7 separate regions of the Homo sapiens genome follow, and regions 2, 3, 4, 5, 6 and 7 are each linked to region 1. Evidence: promoter capture Hi-C in 16 types of primary human blood cells and fetal thymus (Javierre and others, 2016). All regions are on one chromosome and are shown on one strand. Each heading gives the region's core, a stretch centred on a gene start or on the middle of the fragment in contact. The rest is flanking DNA. Distances are from core to core; before and after follow the strand shown.

The links. Contacts are between HindIII fragments. The CHiCAGO score rates a contact against its expected background, and 5 or more counts as called.
Region 2: a contact is called between the fragment with the promoter of THAP1 here and the fragment with the promoter of TTI2 in region 1, in 1 of 17 cell types (naive CD8 T cells). The highest score is 7.0, in naive CD8 T cells.
Region 3: a contact is called between the fragment with the promoter of PPP2R2A here and the fragment with the promoter of TTI2 in region 1, in 1 of 17 cell types (total CD4 T cells). The highest score is 5.7, in total CD4 T cells.
Region 4: a fragment that was not itself captured here is called in contact with the fragment with the promoter of TTI2 in region 1 in 1 of 17 cell types (total CD4 T cells); the score reaches 10.5 in total CD4 T cells.
Region 5: a fragment that was not itself captured here is called in contact with the fragment with the promoter of TTI2 in region 1 in 1 of 17 cell types (naive CD8 T cells); the score reaches 7.9 in naive CD8 T cells.
Region 6: a contact is called between a fragment that was not itself captured here and the fragment with the promoter of TTI2 in region 1, in 1 of 17 cell types (non-activated CD4 T cells). The highest score is 5.5, in non-activated CD4 T cells.
Region 7: a fragment that was not itself captured here is called in contact with the fragment with the promoter of TTI2 in region 1 in 1 of 17 cell types (M0 macrophages); the score reaches 7.0 in M0 macrophages.

The regions. Positions count from the first base shown.
Region 1 is chr8:33,511,717-33,514,689 of GRCh38, forward strand. It overlaps TTI2 (TELO2 interacting protein 2), which reads right to left and starts at 1,419. Exons shown (of 8, transcript NM_001102401.4): 1 at 1,366-1,419; 2 at 251-996. The coding sequence starts at 897. It overlaps SNORD13 (small nucleolar RNA, C/D box 13), which reads left to right and starts at 1,759; the gene lies at 1,759-1,862. RefSeq lists an enhancer at 1,451-1,590 and a silencer at 2,021-2,070. The HindIII fragment of the contact is 19,476 bases long and covers 1-2,973 here.
Region 2 is chr8:42,841,819-42,844,791 of GRCh38, forward strand. THAP1 (THAP domain containing 1) reads right to left here and starts at 1,507. Exons shown (of 3, transcript NM_018105.3): 1 at 1,206-1,507. The coding sequence starts at 1,276. LOC124901940 (a long non-coding RNA gene) reads left to right here and starts at 1,116. Exons shown (of 2, transcript XR_007060901.1): 1 at 1,116-1,565; 2 at 1,949-2,973. RefSeq lists enhancers at 1,100-1,890, 1,226-1,585 and a silencer at 1,106-1,195. The HindIII fragment of the contact is 1,565 bases long and covers 702-2,266 here.
Region 3 is chr8:26,290,075-26,293,047 of GRCh38, forward strand. It overlaps PPP2R2A (protein phosphatase 2 regulatory subunit Balpha), which reads left to right and starts at 1,434. Exons shown (of 10, transcript NM_002717.4): 1 at 1,434-1,752. The coding sequence starts at 1,746. RefSeq lists a silencer at 1,236-1,585. The HindIII fragment of the contact is 3,300 bases long and covers 1-2,521 here.
Region 4 is chr8:26,574,680-26,577,652 of GRCh38, forward strand. All of the region lies in intron 1 of DPYSL2 (dihydropyrimidinase like 2), which reads left to right. Among named protein-coding and RNA genes, the nearest start is that of DPYSL2, 62 kb to the left of the region's middle. RefSeq lists enhancers at 1,438-1,607, 1,706-2,403, 2,404-2,973 and silencers at 2,208-2,407, 2,448-2,973. The HindIII fragment of the contact is 357 bases long and covers 1,290-1,646 here.
Region 5 is chr8:27,360,031-27,363,003 of GRCh38, forward strand. All of the region lies in intron 1 of PTK2B (protein tyrosine kinase 2 beta), which reads left to right. Among named protein-coding and RNA genes, the nearest start is that of PTK2B, 36 kb to the left of the region's middle. RefSeq lists enhancers at 1,555-1,714, 2,035-2,144, 2,097-2,627. The HindIII fragment of the contact is 3,430 bases long and covers 1-2,973 here.
Region 6 is chr8:27,763,618-27,766,590 of GRCh38, forward strand. CCDC25 (coiled-coil domain containing 25) reads right to left here. Exons shown (of 9, transcript NM_018246.3): 2 at 1,587-1,634. Among named protein-coding and RNA genes, the nearest start is that of CCDC25, 7.5 kb to the right of the region's middle. The HindIII fragment of the contact is 2,330 bases long and covers 434-2,763 here.
Region 7 is chr8:38,989,104-38,992,076 of GRCh38, forward strand. It overlaps TM2D2 (TM2 domain containing 2), which reads right to left. Exons shown (of 4, transcript NM_078473.3): 4 at 1-2,442. The coding sequence ends at 2,229. Among named protein-coding and RNA genes, the nearest start is that of TM2D2, 5.9 kb to the right of the region's middle. The HindIII fragment of the contact is 6,930 bases long and covers 1-2,973 here.

The DNA of each region.
Region 1 (2,973 bases), core at 169-2,668:
GTCTCTACTAAAAATACAAAAAATCAGCCAGGCGTGGTGACGGGCAACTGTAATCCCAGCTACTCCGAAGGCTGACACAGGAGAATCGCTTGAACCCAGGAGGCGGAGGTTGCAGTGAGCTGAGATCGCAACATTGCACTCCACCCTGGGCAACAAGAGTGAAACTCTGTCTCGAAAATAAATAAATAATAAAAAATAAAAATAAAAAACTGTGAGGCTCAAGTCGGTGGCAAAGGGCAGGAGTACTCACTTATACAAGTCGGGTTTGAGAAGCCCTAGTATCACCGAAAGTCTCCCTTTCTCATCTTCATTTTCTCCATGTAGGAATCCTGCCACAGAACCGCATTCAGTAACTTGAAGCAGTGAGGTGAGCACCTCCCTAGCAACTTCCCGAGATCTCGGAGTGGTCCATGGTTGCTCCAAGCTGTGTGTGATGGCAAAAATATAAACGGGTCCTGCCAAGTGATGCAGGCCCGTCTGCCATGCAGGGCCGACCAGGGAATTCTTAGCAGTCTCAACTTTCCCTAACAGTTTAAGAAACAGTAACCCAACTTGGGCTGCTTTCTCGGCCGCTTCGGAGTGCCCATCACCTCCACCTTCCTCCTCCTTGGAGGGGGCTGCATACTTCTCCAGGGCTTTTGCTACCTGCCCCAGTGTCTCCGGCATTCCGCGGAGCCGTGCACCAGTCCCCTCAAATAACCTATCAAATTCTGTGGCTTCTATTAGATCACCGAGGTCTTTAAGAACTGCATCTTTTACATTGCCTCGTCGTGCCTCCGGGCGGGCAAGACAGTGTAAAATCTTGGAGAAGGCCTGTCCAAAGGCGGAGTGAGACAACTCCTCGGACAAATTAGAGTCTTCCTGCGATGGGGCTTCCAGAGCGCTGTCAAGCTCCATTCCTGACTGCAGCACCAGAAGGCTGGTCTCTCCCACAGAACGAGGATGGAGGCGGGGAGGGATCCGTTGAAGAGGGAAGGAGCGATCACCCAAAGAGAACTAAAATCAAATAAAATAAAACAGAGAGATGTCTTGGAGGAGGGGGCGAGTCTGACCGGGATAAGAATAAAGAGAAAGGGTGAACCCGGGAGGCGGAGTTTGCAGTGAGCCGAGATCGCGCCACTGCACTCCAGCCTGGGCGACAGAGTGAGACTCCGTCTCAGTAAAAAAAAAAAAAAAAAAAAGAATAAAGAGGAAAGGACGCAAGAAAGGGAAAGGGGACTCTCAGGGAGTAAAAGAGTCTTACACTTTTAACAGTGACGTTAAAAGACTACTGTTGCCTTTCTGAAGACTAAAAAGAAAAAAAACTTAAAAATTTAAAGAAATAAACTTCTGAGCCATGTCACCAACTTAACCACCCCCAGGTACCTGCAACGGCTCGCGCCCGCCGGTGTCTAACAGGATCCGGACCTAGCTCATATTGCTGCCGCAAAACGCAAGGCTAGCTTCCGCCAGTACTGCCGCAACACCTTCTTATTTCACGACGTATGGTCGTAAAGCAATAAAGATCCAGGCTCGGGAAAATGACGGAGAGGTGGAACTATAGAGAATAAATTTGCATATATAATAATCCGCTCGCTAATTGTGTTTCTGTTTTCCTTTGCTAAGGTAGAAACAAAAGAATAATCACAGAATCTCAGTGGGACTTTGAAAATATCCAGGATTTTATACGTGAAGAATGGATGTATCGCATTACGGTAGTCACCCTATGTGTAAATTAGTGGCACATACTTGGCACTCCTTAATGTCAACTATAAGATGATCCTTTTGTAGTTCATGAGCGTGATGATTGGGTGTTCATACGCTTGTGTGAGATGTGCCACCCTTGAACCTTGTTACGACGTGGGCACATTACCCGTCTGACCTGAACTTCAAGGATCGATTTAACACTTGTATTTGTGGGCTTGTTACTTATGATAACAGGTGGCCTAGTTTCATGGCTTTGTGTTTACCGTTTTCGGGTGCCCTTTTTTCTGGCTGTATGCTACACGCACGGGTGCTTTTCCGTTGTCCAACTGTGTAATGTGTTTTTGTGTTTGTTCTTTTGTGAGTCGGAGTCTCGCGTTGTCGCCAGGCTGGAGTTGCAGTGTTGCGATCTCGGCTCACTGCAACCCCCACCTCCGGTTTTCGAGAGATTGTCCTACCTCAGCCTCCCGAGTAGCTGGGACTATAGGCGCGCGCCACCACGCCCAGCTAATTTTTGTATAAATATTGGCAAGGATGGTCTCGATCTCTTGACCTCGTGATGCGCCCGCCTCGGCCTCCCAAAGGGCTGGGATTACAGGCGTGAGCCACCGCGCCTGGCCAATGCAGAGCTTTTTAATGGCTTTAATTTTTTAGGTTTGGGAGATACCTGCGCAGGTTTGTTACCTGGATATGTTGTGGGATGCTGGGATTTGGAGTGCAGCTTAGCCCGTTTTCATTGCCCCCTCTAGTAGACCACAGTGTCTGTTGTTGCCACTTTTATGTCCACGTGTTCCTAATGTTTAGCTCCCACTTATGAATGAGAGCATGCGGTATTTGGTTTTCTGTTCAATGCAATACTTTAGCTGGTTTCTGGAGCTAGCGTTTTAAAGCCTGTAGCCACAAGCGTTTGAAAATTCAAATTCTAGCGTCAAGGTAGAAGCCCCCAGCTGGCGTCTGGGGCAGCCCTGAGGGAGGTGGGTCGTCGGGTTGGCGGATCCGGCTTGGGCCCGCCCCGCCAGTGTCGGCGCCGGGTGCGCAGGGACAGCAGAGCGCTGTCTTGGGCATGGGTCGCAGGCGGCGCCCGGAACGGGCCAGGGGAGCTGGAGGCTGCAGACTCGGGCTCGGCGGGTGTAGGAACCAGTGGTGTTTGCTTGGGTTTTGAGAAGGCGCGAGAAGGGTCGCGCCTGTGCGACCGCCCTGTGTTGGGTCCCCCACGCCGCGTCGGCATTGCTTGTTCCCTCTTCCTGCGCTTTCCTGGAGGGTAGAATTGCGTCCGATTGGCCTTCAGTT
Region 2 (2,973 bases), core at 257-2,756, 9.3 Mb after region 1:
TCCTCTAAGTGTTCTATCCCCTTCTCCAAGGGGTAACATTATTACTCTGGAGACCTCTCTATGTTCTACACACTCTTATTTCTATAGGGTCCATCTCACATGATATCAAACATATTTAAAAAATGCATGGACACTCCCCTAGTAAACACAGATGGCCCCACAGCAAAAAAATAAATTAACTGAAAAGATATTTAACATTTTGCTTTTGTAATTATTTACCTAATTATAAAAGATAATTAGCTAATTACCTATGGCTAATCTGTATAGTTTACCCCTGGATCTGATTTCTTACCTATCATCTGCGTATAGCTGTCAGGAATTCTTGCAAAGAAAACTTAACATAAATGTAATTAAAATTTGTAAACAAATTCAGCTGAATGAAAATGTTATGTCACATTTTACAAGCGTTTATCATAAGTAATTACAACTCTGCACTTTTTTCCTATTTTCAAGAGAATATTTTTGATCCTATCACTTAACTGTGCTACCTACTGGATAAGACAGCTCTGAAAGCTGTGGGGCAGTTTCTTTCGAAAGAGCTTTCTCTATGCACAGGTAATGCCATAATAAATAAAGATCCGTGTGAGTCATTTTATTATGATCCATGTTGTAACTGTCCATATTATCATTATTGTGTGCTGAAAAGATAACGATTTATCTCGGCAGTACCTGAAGCTTTCTCCAAAATACAGGGTCCTTAAAGCTTAGTTCCTAGAGATTGGGGGCAAAAATTCTCCCTGATTTCCCAGCCAAAAAACCCTTAATTGCTACGATGCTGGCCTCCCATCCACGGCAAGGGCGAAAAGTAGTGATTTCTTCGTTTAAAGGCCTTTGTTTCTATTTTAAATTTACCCCTAAGACCATATTAAAACACCTGGCTGCTCTGTGACCCTGGTGGTGGCAAAACCCGCGCCACCCTAGGCATCGCCCGTGGGCTCCGAACGCGTCAACCCAGGCCGTGAGCGAAGCCTGCAACCAGGGCCTGTTCCAGGAGCGCGAGAAACGGCTGCCGCGGCGACGCGCGCCGAGAACGCGCGATCGGGCGGCGGTTCCCAGCGGGACGCGGTGGGAAACGCCCGACACGGCCGGCCCCAGACCCCACCCGCCCCTCGCGCGGACACGCGCCTGGCTCCGCCCCCGGCCCCGCCGGCCGCGCGCCCCCACCCCGGCTGAGACCGGCCCCGCGAGGCGCGCAGGGTCCTCACTTGTGGAAAGAAACGGGCTTGTCCTTGTCGTAGCGGTTCTTGCAGCCGTAGGCGGAGCAGGACTGCACCATCCTTCCGGTCCTCAGGCACTTCACTTCTGCCGCCGCAGAAGGCAGGGGAAGCTGTTCTCAGTGTCGCTGCGCTCGGTTGGATTCCCTCGCTTCTTTTGTAGCTTTGGCCAACAGTTACAGTGATGGTGGCCTCCCTCGGGGGTGACTAGTGTGCCCGTTTTGTTGTTTGCATTAGCAGAAGGACCACAGCCATCGCCCGTCTCCCATCTCCAAGATGGCGGAGGCAGCTTCAACCTCACCTCTCGCGAGGGGTGCGTCCCACTGTCTCTGATTAGCCCCGAGGTCAGAGGTAACGTTTCCTGGGAAGCTAACTATTGGCTGAGGCCAGGTGTTTCCGGCGGTGGCTTCAGAGTTGCCGAAGTGGGCGGAGCCCTGAGCTTCCGGCAGGCAGGAAGGAACTGCTTGTGGGGGGAGGAGGCGCGGCGGGAGGCCGGATTCCTGGGGCATCCTCCAGCCCCGGGCTGTTCCCGTGGGTTAATTGATGCGGACCTTTTCTGGGGCAGCTTACAGTAGGGAACAACTAGGGCCTCTTGGAGAACAGGTGTAAAGCCGAGGTCGTTGGCTGATTGCGCCCATTTCTTTAAAAGGGCGGACACAGATGGTGTATGATTAATAAAATTGTGGAACCTTTTCCCAGAGTGCTAATCTTTATCCCATTACCTGTGTCTTCAGGTATCACAAGTTTCTGTGAGAGCCAACGTGACAGATTTTTAGCAATGAAAAAAGACACACTCGCCAAATCATCTCAATTGCCAACGCAGAAGCGTTTTATATATATGTATGTATATGTATGTATATATGTGTGTATGTATATATGTGTGTGTGTATGTATATATATATATATATATGTAATTTTTTAAATAAATAGAGGCGTTGTCTCCCCACGTTGCCCAGGTCAGTCTGGAACTCGAGCTCAAGGGATCCTCCCATCTCGACCTCCCCATGGGTTGGGATTACAGGAGTTGAGCCACCAGGCTGTCCCTCCCCAGAAGCTTTTCTGAAGGCTCTCCATTGCTGTGATTTCCATGTGCTGTGTTGCAAATAGCGAACTGCTGCAGCAATTTTCACACCTGAGAGAGAATATGTTAGAGGGGTTCGAACTAGAGCGACTCTGTGTTGAGTGAGGGCTAGGAAAATGAGGCTGGGACTTGCTGGGCTGCATTCCCGGGAAGTTAGGTATTCCTAGCCTCTAGATGTGTATACCATTAAGGCAACAGATTGATAATGTTTACTACACAGACCCAGACTACCAAGTGTCCAGATATCCCGATATTTTGAGAACAGAAGCATTCCTAATTTTGCTTTAAAGATAATAATATTGGGCTGGGCACAGTGCCTCACGCCTGTAATCCCAGCACTTTGGAAGGCCGAGGCGGGCGGATCACTTGAGGTCAGGAGTTCAAGACTAGCCTGGTCAACATGGTGAAAACGTCTCTACTAAAAATACAAAAATTAACCGGGTGTGGTGGCACATGCCCTCGAATTTCAGCTACTCTGGAGGCTGAGGCAGGATAATCGCTTGAATCCGGGAGGCGGGGGTTGCAGTGAGCCGTGCTTGCACCACTGCACTCCAGCCTGGGCGACAGAGTAAGACTCTGTCTCATAAATAAAGATAATATCGATTCTTACATAATATAGTAATTAATCCTTTATCACAAACCCTTGTAGCAAAGCACATCTCCCCATGATCTTTTTTT
Region 3 (2,973 bases), core at 184-2,683, 7.2 Mb before region 1:
TTTCAATACAAATCTAATAATAACGGCAGCTAACATTTATCATGTGCTCAAATTAAGTCATTTCATCTCCCCAACAATCCTATCAGGTAGGACTGTCATCTTCATCTCCTGAGCCTTGGAATCATATTAGGCAGCCTGGCTTCAGAGCCCAGCACTTTTTGTGTTTTTGTTTTTGTTTTGACAGGATCGCATTCTGTCTCCCAGGCTGGAGTGCAGTGATGTGATCACATAGCTCACTGCAGCCTTGACCTACTGGGCTCAAGCAGTCCTCCTACTGCAGCCTTCTAGTAGCTGGGACTATAGGCACGCCATCATACCTGGCTAATTTAAAAAAAAAAATTTTTTTTGGAGAGATGGGTCTCCCTATGTTCTCCAGGCCGAACTCGGAACTCCTGGCCTCAAGCGATCCTCCCACCTCGGCTTCCCAAAGTGCTGGGACTACAGGCGTGAGCCACCGCGCCCGGCCCTGAGCCCAGCTCTTAAGCACGCAGTCCAACACGTTTAGCTGGAGAGACGCCGGGTCACTTCTTGGGCCATACCCTCTCATCACAAACTCAGGTTTCTCTTAGAAATCACTCTTAGTGTCCGCAGTGCCTAGGACTCCCGCCTTGGATCCTGGGGCCCACGAGAAGGTAATTTAATTCACCCAGATAGAACCAGCCCAATCGTGTCCCTCTGAACCCCGTGAACTTTCACCCCGGCTGAGCAGTAAGTCTGCACCGCTGTCCCTTTCTTTGTGGTCTCAGGGCTAATCCAAAGTGACAATTTCCTAAGAAGCAGTACGGGGTTTTTTGTTTGTTTGTTTTTTGTTTTTGAGACGGAGTCTTGCTCTGTCACCCAGGCTGGAGTGCAGTGGTGCGATCTCGGCTCACTGCAACCTCTGCCTCCCGGGTTCAAGCAATTCTCACACCTCAGCCTCCCAAGTAGCTAGGATTACAGGCGCACACCACCACGCCTGGCTAATTTTTGTATATTTTTAAGTAGAGACGGGGTTTCACCATGTTGGCCAGGCTGGTCTCGAACTCCTGACCTTGTGATCCGCCCGCCTCAGCCTCCCAAAGTGCTGGGATTACAGGCATGAGCCACCGTGCCCGGCCCAGGTATTCCTAGAAGACATAGGACCCCATGAATCCTTGCAGGAGAGCACGTAAACTGGACTCCTAAGCCCGCCCCAGAGCCCCGGCGCTAGTGCTCGAGGCTGGGACACTGCTAGGTGCACACAGCCGCGGCCTGGCGCAGGCGGTGCGGACAGAGGGTATGCCATGGCGAGACGCTGGCGCGGCGCAGGCCCTGCCGGCCGGGACACGGAGGGCGGGGCACAGGCGCAGCAGGAAGGGGGCGTGGCCAAGAGCCGCCCGGCCGCTCCCCCGCCCCTCCCCCTCCGCTCTCCGCCCCAGCCCGGCGGCTCCGCCCCCTAGGTGACGTCACTGGCCAGGCCAGCCGGCGCCATTTTGAAAGTGGAGTCGCCTGCCCCTGCCGCTGCCGCCGCCGCCGTCGCTGTCGTAGTCGCCGCCGCCGCTGCCGGAGAAAGAGCACGAGCGGGGAAGCCCCAGAGTGAAATCTAGCATCCTGCCGGCTGGTCTGCCCGCCCCTCCTTCCTTTTCCCCCCGGCCCCCGTCCCCTCCCCCCGCAGGTGCCATCCGCCGCCATCCGCCCTCTCTACCCCCCCATCCCCAGGTGAGGGGGGTGAGTTCAGGAAGCGGAGACCCCGAGGAACCCAGCAGGGTCACCATTTGCAGCGCAACATGGCAGGTAAAGGAGAAATCCCCCTCGCCCCCTGACAAGGCACCGCTTCCTTATTCCTCCCTCCATCACCCCCTAGCGACCGCCCGCGCCTCGCGCAGAGCCACAGGGCGCCCCTCGGGTTTGAGGGAGTAGGGTCCAGAGGGGTGGGGTGGGGGCGGGGAGGGCTCCCGGGAGGCAAGTGGTCACGGTGAGAGTCACTGGGCTTGGAGAACGGGGCTGGCGCCGTGGCGGGGGTGGGGGTGGGGTGTGCCGGCGAGCTTGGGGTGAGGCGTGGGTGGGGCGGGGTGGGGGTGCGTGCAGATTTGTCCCTCCCGCTCGGGAGCCTGGTGGATCTTCTCCCACCTCCCCACCTTGCCCCCCGCCTTTATTTTTTTTTCCTGCAGGTCTTCATTTAATTTCTATTTTTCCCCCTGCTGCAAGCCTTCTTGGGTGTATATACACATTTATTTTGCCTCGAGAAGGAAGAGCGCCTTATAAGTTAAAATACAGTGGGGGCATATGTGTATTTTTTCCCCACTGTAGATGCCAATATTTTTGAGACTGGAAGCCTAAATTTTTTGTTTCGAACCATTTCGTTTCCGTTTCTTCCCTTTTACCGCCGAAGAGTGCAAGGCCTTTCATGTACAGCAAGTTGCATGAAAATAATTTAAACTTTGCGTTTAGCATGTTAGCTTTTTTGCAGATGTCCTTTTCCCAAAAGGGTTTGGTAGAGTTAGTTAAAATAGTTGCGGAGTTCAGAGATATAAATAGCAAGGAGGAGAGAGATTTAGGTAGAAGCTTTGAAGGGGAGGGGAAAGGATGTAGAGAGAAAACCAGTTTGGAAATAAATTTAGCAAGGAATAGGGGTGATGGGGGAGAGAGAAGTAATGTAATTGCTTTGAGAATTCTTTTTGTACATGTTGGTATTGCTAAATCTTTTCCTTCATGTAGTAGAATCAGTTGCAGATTTAGATTCAGTTTCTTTCTCCCTAGAGCCCCAGGACATTTTCAATCATTTCGACCTCAGTACTTGCACGTGAAATAGAAACATTCCGAGATGAGACCAGTTTTCCGTGCTGTATTCATTATTTAGATAATTAAACCTTTTGAAAAAGTTAACATGTCGGATTGACTTACGGTTTGCTATAAACAAGTTGCTTGTTGGCCTTGTTGAAAAATGAAATGAGATTAAAATTGTTTTGCACGAGATGACATTAGCAAAATGAATTCTTTGCCAGGTCCTTTGGA
Region 4 (2,973 bases), core at 218-2,717, 6.9 Mb before region 1:
CAAATAATAATTCATAATTTTACAGGAAATTTTCATTGAGTGTTTTTCTACAGAAAGTATAAGAAACATTTATTTATTTATTTAGACAAGGTCTCACTCTGTCACCCAAGCTGGAGTGCAGTGGCACGATCATGGCTTATTACAGCCTCAGCCTCCCAGCCTCAACTGATCTTTCTGCCTCAGCCCCAACCTTCCCCTGCCCCCAGTAGCTGGGACCACAGGTGCCCACCACCACACTCAGCTAATTTATTTTGTTTGTTTTTGTTTTTTTGAGATGGAGTTTCGCTCTTGTTGCCCAGGCTGAAGTGCAGTGGCGCTATCTTGGCTCACTGCAACCTCCGCCTCCCGGATTCAAGTGATTCTCCTGCCTCAGCCTCCCGAATGGCTGGGATTACCGGCCCCAGCCACCATGCCCGTCTGATTTTTGCATTTTTAGTGCAGACGGGGTTTCACCATGTTGGCCAGCCTAGTCTCTAATATTTGTATTTTTTGTAGAGACGGGGTTTCTCCATGTTGCTGAGGCTGGTCTCCAACTCTTGGGCTCAACTGATCTGCCTGCCTTGGCATCCCAAAGTGCGGGATTACAGGTGTGAGCCACTGTGCCCAGCCTCTCATTTATTTTTACAAGGATCTCTGAAGTAAAAGTGTGAGGCCTGTTTACCTGTGGTTTTTTGTTTTTTTTTTCACCTTCATCAGTGCAAAGCAGGTGGAAGATTCTCCTCGGCCCTTTTTTACTTTTCCTCATTGCGCTGAATGGTAAATATGGTAAGAAATGCAGGTTGCAGACAGTTCTCTTCCTCGGTCAATTTAAACCATTTGTTTGGTATCTTTTATGTGCCAAATACTCTCTTAGGCTCTAGTCAGAACAGACAAATCAGTTTATACCTTACATTTTTGGATATTTACGAGTGGAAACGTCAGTTATTATGGACTAAGAACCTCATAGCAATGGCTATACAATTGAAGCCAATGAGACAGACACAAGCTCTTGGAAGCTTTTATTACAAAACAAACGATTCTATGGTAAACTGGTAAATAACAAGATATATTTAAACCCATTACGCTCAAACAACAGGGACGGGGGTAGGGAATACAACAAGAATACAAACAATATAATTATAGGTTACTTTGTTTTAAATTAATTTGAGTCTCTTTATTTACTCCCTTGCCAAGTAGTTTTTTTGTGAGCTAATAGGACACTCCTCTCCACTGCCCTGTCCTCCGCAAAGCTGGGACTGACTGTTGGTTTTTCACAAGTAGAGAGAGGCCAAGTAGAAAGGCGTATTTTAAGCTTTCTCAGACTCGTGACTTTAACCATTACCGGTTGACAGCAATACTTGCCGACATCATCTCACCTTGCTTGCGGCATATCAGATTGCTGGAGGGGGAAGTGCTTCACTTTCTCTTTCAGATGCACAGCTAAATTGAACTTGGATGAATTAACCATCGGTGAAACTTTGTGCGTGCCCTACGGCTACTTTCTGGGACTTCAGATTTTTAGAGATATAGGAGTGAAAAGGAGAATTTTACACCTTCTCTGAGTCTGGAAGGACAGACATTCCCCTAAAGTGGCTAAGGTGGTGAAGGGCAGAAAGATTGGAAGTCAGGCCCACAGCAGCTCGAATTATTCCGTATTTATCTAGCTAAGCTTTGCTGAGCAGGTGTGAGCCAATTACATACTCTTTCTTCCCCCACCCCCCAGCCCATGATTACGTAGGGATTCTATGTATCCTTCGACCTCAAGCAGAGAAGCCCGAGCGCTACGAGGGCTGGTCCAGATGTTTTAGTTATTGTACCTGCCAGGGCAACCTCCCACGGGGGTTGGCCTCGGTAGATTCCTGAGGATCAACTGGATCAGCGTTTTTCTTTCCCACGGACCCTGAAGTTAGAGCATCCCAGCATGGCTTGGACAGGCAAAGCTAAGGGGTCCCAGGCCTGCTCAATTGCTAGGACCACGAAGGGGCCTTGAGTGCCGTTTGAAGTGACAAGGCTCTGCCTGGGCAGTCAGGACACTCTTGATTTTAACTCCGATTCAGTAGGTTTTCCCCAAGACTCAGTTTCCCTTTCCTGTGGGATATAAACTCTTCCTTTCTTGCTCCTCCACAGCTCATCTCCTCCTCTCCGCCCCACGGTGCGGTGTGGGTCCCATCCACTGGCACTGTAAACCCTCAGGACCCCGGGGCGCTGGGATCGCAGCAGCTGCCCCCGACAGCGCTGCAGGCACCAGCGAAATGCGCTGCGCCCCCACGCACCCCTCAGGGAGCCGAGGTGGGCGTGACTGTAAAGCGGGCGCACAGAGCGCAGATCGCGCCACATCGGCCTCGGCGGGCTGCGGCTGCTCCCCATTCCTCCGCCCTACTAAGTTCCTCGCGGCCGGAAGGCACAAAAGGATGTTTCAGGGCGGGGTTTCCCATACCCCGCAGCCTTCCCCGGATGCCTCCTTCCCGGCTCGGAGTTGGAAGGGTTTCCTCAGGGCTCTCATTTCCTGCAGCCCGGCGCCTCCACGCGGGCCAGATCCCGTCTCTGCAGCCTCCCCCCGGCCCGCGCCCATTCCCCGCCCCCAGGAGCCGGGCCCGGACGCTCCCGGGAAGCAGCCGCCCTCTCCGGGGCCGGGCGTGGCCGGGCCCTCCCCGCCGGGTTCCCGCCCGCCGCCGTTCCAGTCCTCAGCCGCGCCAGGGCGGGGGCCAGGCGAGTTCAGCGCCAGCAACGGCGGGGGAGGAGGGCCCGGGAGCCCTCCCGGGCTGCGCGGCGCCGGCCGGCGGTGCAGTCGCGCGCTCGCCGCCAGCGAAGCCATTGGCTCGGCGCAGTCACCCCACGCGGGGCTGCCGCGGCGGCCTCCGCGGATTGGCGCGCAGGCGGGCAGGGACCGGGGCGCGCGCAGGCGAGTGCGTGCGGCCCCGAAGCCCCGCCGTCTCGGGGTGCCGCCCCTCCCCCCGGCCGCGACGACCACCCCTCCATTGTCCCCGCGTGGCC
Region 5 (2,973 bases), core at 222-2,721, 6.2 Mb before region 1:
TCTTCTTTACCACTCGGATGTGATTAAGATGTCTTTGTTATGGTTTATTCAGCATGCCATGCATATGAAGGGGGAAGGGCCCAGTCGACATTAGGTCTGTCTATTACAGGACTGAAAAATCATACATCCCCATGTTCTCACATTGGCAAAAGCTCACTTTCATTTATTCAGTCAACAAATGTCACTGAGTCAACTAGAATCTAGGTCTAGGGTGACGCATAAAGAGACACAGTCCTCCCTGAGCTCCCAGAACTTAACACCCAGAATGGGAGATGGGCTGGAATCAGACAGCCCAAGGAATCCATGCGCGATGCCGGCAAGCGCCGCAGAGAAGGAAAGTCATGCTGATGCTGATGGGAGACGGCTGATGCTCAGAGGAGGCCTGGCCTGGGCAGGGGTCAGGGAGGGATAGAGACAGGGAGCTGTCACAGAGGCCAGAGGACAGCCCAAGAGCATTCAGTGTTTCTGGTGCCCTTCCTCCTTCCAGGTCCCTCCCTCCTTCCAGCCCCGTTCCTCCACCATGGAAGCCAATGTGACTTGTGAGCTAGCTGGCTCCTGAACCGGTGGCAGAACCCCATGGCGATGCAATCATAAAGGGGTGGGGGTGGGTGAGAGGGCAGGATTTCCTGGGGTACGATGCCCCAATACACTGTGAACTACCAAATGACACGTATATTCTGTGAACTTTCAAAAAAGGATGTGAAAGACTTCTGTGCAAACATTTCACCTGGGATCTTTTCACTAGCAAGATGGGGAGAAAAAGCCAAAACTGCATTTCTCTCGCCCTCTGGGTCTAGATGTGGGGATTTCTTCTCCTTCCAGATGACAACCAGGAAGGGCCCCCAATTATTCTCGAAATAAAACGTGTCGGTCTTTCGAAATGGTCAGTGGGGTGATGTCTGGGTCCCAGGAAAGAAAGAAACATAGGATTTGTGCTTTTTGTTGATATGAAGTTAAGGGGTACAAGTGAGAGTGATTTTGTTACATGGGATACATTGCATAGTAGTAAAGTCTGGGCTTGTAGTGCAACCATCACCCGAATACTGTTTATTGTACCCATTAAATAATTTCCTATCCCTCACCCCCTTCCCACCCTCCTGAGTCTCCAATGTCTATTATTCCACACTCTATGTCCATATGTACAAATTATTTAGCTCCAGATTTAGCTTTTTATTTCTTTTTTGTTTCCTTTTTGTTTGTTTATTTGATATAGGGTCTTGCTCTGTTGCCCAGGCTGGAGTGCAGTGGTGCAATCATAGCTCACTACAGCCTCGAACTCCTGGGCTCAGGTGATCCTCCCATCTTAGCCTCCCGAGTAGCTGGGACCACAGGCATGCACCACCATGCCTGGCTAATTTTTTATTTTACTTTTTGTACAGATGGGGGTCTCACTTTGTTGCTCCAGCTGTTCTTGAACTCCTGGCCTCAAGCGATGCTCCCACTTTAGCCTCCCAAAGTGCTGGGATTACAGGCATGAGCCACCGCAGCCGGCCTGGATTTGGCTCTTTAAAGGAAAGAGCGAGCCCTGGACTGGGCAGGGTGGGAAAATGGCCCCAGCTCTCCCTCTGACTTCAGGGAGGGACCTTGGATAGGGGGCTTATGGGCTCCAGGCACCTTCTCTGTAAAATTAGGTCATACTAAGGGAGCTGGAGGGCCCTTCTCTTTCTGGTATCCCAGGTGGTCTCCCCAGGGGTGGTGGTTGTGGCTGAGGCCCACTGCCTGCTTTTCTGGTGCTCTCAATGAAGTACAGTCCTGGGGTCCTCTGTATGTGGATGGACTAGGCTGTGAAGTCTATCCGCCCCCCTGCTCCGCTCCACACCCACACACTGCTCTTCACTGATAACCCCGATGATGCAGACAGCCTCCCTCAGGAATTTTTCTCATCCTCCTAGTCATCATTTCAGTCAGCCCTGCCCCGTGTGCCAGACAAGCACACTCTATGTGTTCAAAGGTGATGCACCGATCGTGCCCTGTCTGATGTTTACTAACCAACCTGACTGGGTCTGTGGGTGACAAGGGCAGGCCCTGTTTCCCTTGGATCTTCCTTTTATGGACACAAATCGCTGACCTGTCTGGGCAGGCCTGCTCTAATCCAGGTCTGGCCCTGAGCCTCCTGTCATTTTGCTGACCCAGTTCATCATCCTGGAGGCAGGGCTTGAGTTGAAAAGTTAGAGCCTCAGGGCAGCACCAGGAGCCTGCACTTTCCGGGGCCTCCCCTTCTCTCTCCCCTAGGCTGACCTGTCCTCCCCTCTCCACTTCCTGGGCGTGACTCACAGGCAGGCCCTATCGGCATGGCAGGTATGTGTCATTTCCTTATGCTGGTGAGACCCAGAGTTTCAGTGTTAGCACCCCCACACTGTGGCTCTTCTAGCCCAATGGAGAAGGGCTAAGGGTTTCTAAAGTCGTTGACCTAGGGATTTACTGTTGGGATGAATTTCTCACCTAGGGGAGGTGTTCTGTTTTTGCTGAGAGATGACTGTGGGGAGCAGGGTTCTCTGCTCCTCTGACACTACTCATCCTCCTTCCCAACACCTGTGGGCCTTTAGCAAAGCAACACCCCACCCCCACCTTCACCCTGACCCCAGCAGTGTTTTCTTTCCCCCCACCAAGACTTCCTTGGGGCCCTCTGGCCTTGCCAAACCCCCTTTGTAGCAGCCTCCCCTTCCAGCAGTGACAGGAGGGACCCAGCCTCGGGAGCCTGTCTCTGAGAGACAGATGCAGGCAAAGAGCCGTTACCATGCAAAATCTAGAACTGTTCCCACGTGAAATCTAGAACTTCTCCCACACGAAATCTAGAACTGCTCCCACACGAAATCTAGAACTGCTCCCATGCGAAATCTAGAACCACTCCCATGCGAAATCTTGAACCGCTGGGTGGAAATGAGGTTCAGTAGGTGCGGCAGTGTCACCTCTCTGGAGCATCTTCCCAAGTCTTTATGACAAACAGGGATACCCTCATGGCCAGAGTCAGCT
Region 6 (2,973 bases), core at 349-2,848, 5.7 Mb before region 1:
TGAGGTGGGAGAATTGCTTGAATCCAGGAGGTGAAGGTTGCAGTGAGCTGAAATCACGCCACTGCACTCCAGCCTGGGTGACAGAGTGGGAAACTGTCTCAAATAAATAAATAAATAAATAAATTGTGAATGATTCATATGTGATGATTTAAAATGTACCCAAGAAAGTATGGTCTATATAATTTGAATGGGGTATTTACCATCCAGAAAAGGAAAAGCAAAAGGAAGACACATCTTGGGTAAAGGCACTCATAACAGTCGTAGACACTATGAGTTTTCTGAAAGGCTTTCTAATGCTTTAAGTAGGACTGAGCAAATAGCCAAAAGGTAAGCAAAAAAAGGAAAGAGAAATTTAAAAAATCTCTTTCCCTCAGTCAGGCAAAGTTTGGCTCCCTGATGACACCTGCTGGCTGATAAAAAGAACAGACCTGAAAGCTTTTCAGTGAAAGTAAATCATTCCACTTAAATTGATGTTTCTATCGAGTTCTTGGTCTGAAGTCATAAACACTATTAGAAATAAATGTAATGGGCTAGGAATGCCAGACAATGGGGTGATTTAGAGAAGTAATGTCCGTTCTTACAAGGCAACCTAGGAAAAGTTGATACCTCCAAATGACTCTAAGAGTTCCCAGGGAAAAAGTGTTCCATACATACATACATTCACTTACTTCAGACAACAGATTCTCGCTGTCTCTTAAGCTGGAATGCAGTGGCATGATCACAGCTCACTGCAGCCTACCTCCCAGGCTCAAGCGATCTTCCTGCCTCAGCCTCCAGAGTAGCAAGGACAACAGGTGTGTGTCACTATGCCCAGCTAATATTTTCTTTTATTGTTGTTTTTTGTAGAGACAGGGTCTCCCTATGTTGCTCAGGCAGGTCTCGAACTCCTGGGCTCAAGTGATCCTCTCGCCTCAGCCTGTCAAAGTGTTGGGATTACAGGCGTGAACCACCATGCCTGGCCTCTTACGTTTTTTTCTACAAAGGTTTTTAATGACAGCAAAATGCCACTCCAGAGGGCTCTAAAAATATCATCTAAATTTATATCTGTGACATAAATTATGTATCTAGATTTGTATCTATATATTCCTACAATAGACATTCAAAGGATTCCACAATCTAGTCCATCCTAACCCACTCCTCCACAAAGCCTTCTCAGCTTTCAATCACATTTACTATCTCTGATCTGTCTACTTCGACAGCATTTACTATTCATGTTACTTCATTTTGTCTATACTTTTTAAAAAATAGACCTTAGTACTTTTTCATGATAATAAAGTTGTGACATTAACTTTGGGTGTGATTTAATGGTGAAGCAGTCTGCAGCATATTAACACTTGAGTTTTACATTTCTCCTACTAACCCATAAATCATCACAAGTAACATTGATAGTTAAAGCATTTTTCTTATGTAGCTTAGGAGGTGCTGCTGTCTCCCTATGTGAGCTTGTTCTGTTTCTCAAAAGCTAGTTTATCAAAGTAGGTGAAAACTCAGAACCAACAAACTGGGTGGGGGGCATGGAAGGTGGTGAGTGAGAGATAACACTTACCTGCTGAAAATTTCAAAATCAAATGCTTTTGAAAACTTACTTTCATATTTATCTTTTCCCATGTAAATAGTGTAGGCAGATGAATTAACTAAGATAAAACAAAAATAAAAAACAATTAGTAACTTCATCACCAACAAAATTGTTTCATGTGAAAAACAAGTGACAATTCTTAGACTAGGGGCTGGCAAACCATGGCCCATGATCCAAATCCAGCCTACCACCTGTTTTTGGACAGCCCTTGAGCTAAGAATGGTTTTTACGTTTTTAAAGGGTTGGAAAAAAAGCAAAACAAAGAAGAATAAGCCACGGAGATTGTAGGTGACTCACAAAGCCTAAAATATTTACTATCTGGCCCCAAAAGAGAAAGTTTACCATCCTTACTAATAGCTACTTTCCTACTTTCTCAGGGTTACAGTTCAATGGTATCGCCAGTCCAGTCCTATACTTTTGCCTTCTTTAAGAGTTAAAAAAAAAAGAAAAGAAAAGAAAACTAAACACCACAACTAAGTTCCCATGTTTACCAAAGTTTTATTGTGCATAATTGTTTTTAGCCAATATTACCCATATTCCAGGTGTGCTGCATATTCTAACAGGCTCTCTATCACATTCAGGGAGACCATGACTCTCCAACTTCTAAACCAGTGACTCTGACCCCTGATCTACATTAGAATCATCTAATTATGCCCCAGCTCCACCTCAGATCAACTCAATCCAAATCTCTGGTGGGCAAGAGTGAGCATCTGTGTTTTCTAAAAGCCTTCCAAGTGATTCTAATATAAGGTCAGGGTTAGAAACAACTATCCTAACTCAAATGGAATCTTCTGGGTATGGTTTATCCTAGAAATGATATTTGCTTTACCAAGGTGGTGTTTTATTGCAGACGTCCCTACCTTGGATTCCTACTGAAAGGATAACTGAGTGCCAGGTTTCAAAGCTAGTTTACCAAAACTTGTTTGATCCAATTGGACTAAACTCCTGAATTCATAGACACTGGGCCCTCAGGCTACAAAGCCTGTGATGGAGAAGTACTGAAAAATAAATACACACTGAAGCAAAGTACTGATAAGTGCAGGGTTGGGCTGAACAGCCTGCTGGCTATCACTCCACAGCACAGAACACACACATGTACCTGGAGCCCTGAAGGACAAAGGGCAATACGCTCTCCTAAATTAAAAAGCCTTATATCAGAGAGATGCCCTGTACTTTCAGTAATGAGAAGCTTCTTAAATGATCAATCCTAGTTGCCTTTCTCGGGGGAGAGAAAACTAATTCCTTTGTTTAACATTTATAATAACTGAAGTCCAGAAGTAGTTGAGAAAAGTACCTTGAAAGAATGTGTGCATCGCCAAGTTTATAGAAATGCTTGTCTATTATTGAGCATTGTAGTACCTTGATCAGGCCTTAGTGTAGCGTGTAACAAATGCCAA
Region 7 (2,973 bases), core at 207-2,706, 5.5 Mb after region 1:
CAAATGAAAACCAGTAATTTTGGATTGTCACATAGGAATACTGATGATTCTCAAATTACCACTCTAGCAGCGAGAACAACTTCTTTTGTCTCCAGCAGCTTTACTGACAGTAAGAAGGGCATCTTCAGTAGTTTCTAGTCTTTTAGCCCTTCAACCAAGCTCTTACCCCTGGCAACATAAATGACTTCAAGCCTTGGAGCTGCAAAATTTCTTTTTTGGTCAGAGTCTCACTCTGTTGCCCAGGCTGAAGTGCAGTGGCAGGATCTCGGCTCACTGCAATCTCTGCCTCCTCAGTTCAAGTGATTCTCTTACCTCAGCCTCCCGAGTAGCTGGGATTACAGGTGCACGCCACCACGCCCGGCTAATTTTTGCATTTTTACTAGAGACTGGGCGGGGGTGGGGGAGTGTGTCTCACCATGTTGGCCAGGCTGGTCTCGAACTCCTGACCTTAAAGGATTCACCTGCCTCGGCCTCCCAAAGTGCAGGGATTACAGGCTTGCACCATTGCGCTGGCCCTAAAGTTTCTTATTTTTTAAAGAAAACAACTTTTGGTAGGGTTATGAATATACTTAGGAGGTTAAAGTGTGAAATGAGGCAGGACTTGGTTAGGTGAAAAGTAGCATCTTATTTTGGGTAATATTATAATTTATGTTTTTTAGACTTCCCTTAGAAATTTTTTTAAAATATACATATGGCATCCTTGAACTCCCTTAAACTCTTTTATTTGTATAAATTTATAGGGTACCAGTACAATTTTATTTCATGCATAAATTGTGTAGATGAACCCAAGTTCTATGTAAATTCTGTGTATGTAGATTTTTCTGGGGAGAGGGTCTAGTTTCTTCATGACCCATAAAAATTTAATAAATACTATCTTAGGGTATAAAGATTATGAATTAAAAGTTTACCAATTGTTATGTTATAAGCAAGGTTAAGGTCAGTGTGGTACAGAACTTTCAAGACAGAATAGGATCATCTGTTTTAAATTTTTTACAGAAAATTGCCACCTTTAATAATGTAAAAACAGTGATTAATCAGGAATGATAAAGCAAGAAATTCTTAGGAAAGCTACAAAATGATAGAATGTATCCAGGGAAGTTATTTCAACTGTGATATTTGGTCTTAAATTCAATTATTATTAGGTAAACTGAGTGAGTTCTACCTTGTTTCTAGAATTTGTAAGTTATTCTGAGTAAAGCCTCTTCCATTGACTTGGCCACATTGCCCACCTTTGATTTTATATTTAATAGTTCTTTCAACTTAGATTGCAAACGATGAGAACTGAGTTTTTAAAACCACTTACAATCTGGAACATTTCCTTTTATTCCTGGTGACCGGGGAATGCAGAGGTGTGGCTGTTATCTCTTTCTGACTGCTGCAGCCCACAGGGAGAGCTAATCATGAAGAATAGTTTTACAGAAACTTGTATGAAATCTTAATTTTATTAGCATGGGCTGGTAAACGCTGATTTTTAGATTGGACAATTCTGCCAGGAGGAATAGCTCAACTCACACATCTGATGCCGCTGGCTTTCAAAACATAAGTGGAATGAAAAAATTATTGCACTGCATATACTGCCTCTGGAACATAATGGAGACAAAAGAGGGCTTAATAGGATGGCTCATTTCAAATGACTAGGTTTCTGCAAAACAAATATAATTTTGAGTTTATTCCCCCTACTGAAAATACTCATACAGTACTCCAAGTTGGTAAAATTTATTCTACATTTAAATTCAGAAAGTCAGAATTTCAGTGTGTATTACAATCCACGGCCATTTCTATTTCTGCTGAAGATTTTCATTGTTCAGCTTCAGATCTCCTTGCATGAAGACTCAGGGTCACAAGAGGAACATGGATCCAAATATTCATTTTGCTCAACTTGTTAGGTCCACTTGCTCCAAAGGACTGAAGATATAGCAATGTACAGAAAGGAAGACTATGGAAACCCATCCACAGCTTGTAAACTCGCCACTATCCTTTATGTTTTGTGCATGAGGAAAGGAACAAATTTGATTCCCCACAACACTTTTTGCTTGTCATTCCGTCTGCAAGGTAAAATCTGGGTTGAAATTCCAAAGTCCAAAGAAGCCTTCTTAACCAAACAAATGCCCTCCAAAAGAAGGAAAATAACATCAGGTCTGATATCAAAGAGGAGTTTTGAGCCTGTAGAGATGAATTCAGAAGACGGAGCTTTCACCCGCCTCCCTGGGCCATGATGGCAGCTCTTCTTAGTAAACAGTGCACCAGTTGCTGCCATCACTTGGCATCAGCCCTCCAGTAATTAGCAAAATAAGGTCAACAAACCACCAAATCCCAAGTCCTCCAAGCGTCAACAGCTTCCCTACTGCAGTGCCAGTGTGTCCCAAACAGAATCGATCCACACCAAAACATCCCAGGAAGAAGGAGTAGAGTAAAGTGGTTATGAAGTAGTGTCCGGTATACCTAGGTGAAAGGAATGAAAAGGAAGATGTTTTACTGCACGAAAATTTAAACCCTTAAGGATTAGTGAATTTAACGTAAGTGATGAGACAGTGCAGTGGACCCTCTGTGGCCTTTTACCCTCCATTTTGTTTTCTTTTATGATATGGTCAGTGAGGTGAGAGGATCAGGAAAAACCAAAGTTTATTATACTCATAGGTCCCAGAGACAGGAGGCACATCATGTTATACAAGGCTACCTGGCAAAGATACCAGGGTGGTTGGAAGATAGAAGGGAGGGGAAGGTTTTTGGCCACTATCTTCATTGGGGTTTCTGCAGGAAAGGCAAGACAGGGCAGGGCGAATAGTTTAGAACTGGCTAGTTTGAATAACCTCAGCAGGCTCTAAGCTATAGGAGTGGTCCCTGGTTGCCTGGCACTTGGACCTGAGAAGACTAAGGCAGAGGAATATTATTTCCTGGGGTGTACAGGCCAGAAACAGAAGATATGTCTCTAGACTAGTTTGCATATCAAAGGCATGCTGCTGGTTGGGCCCT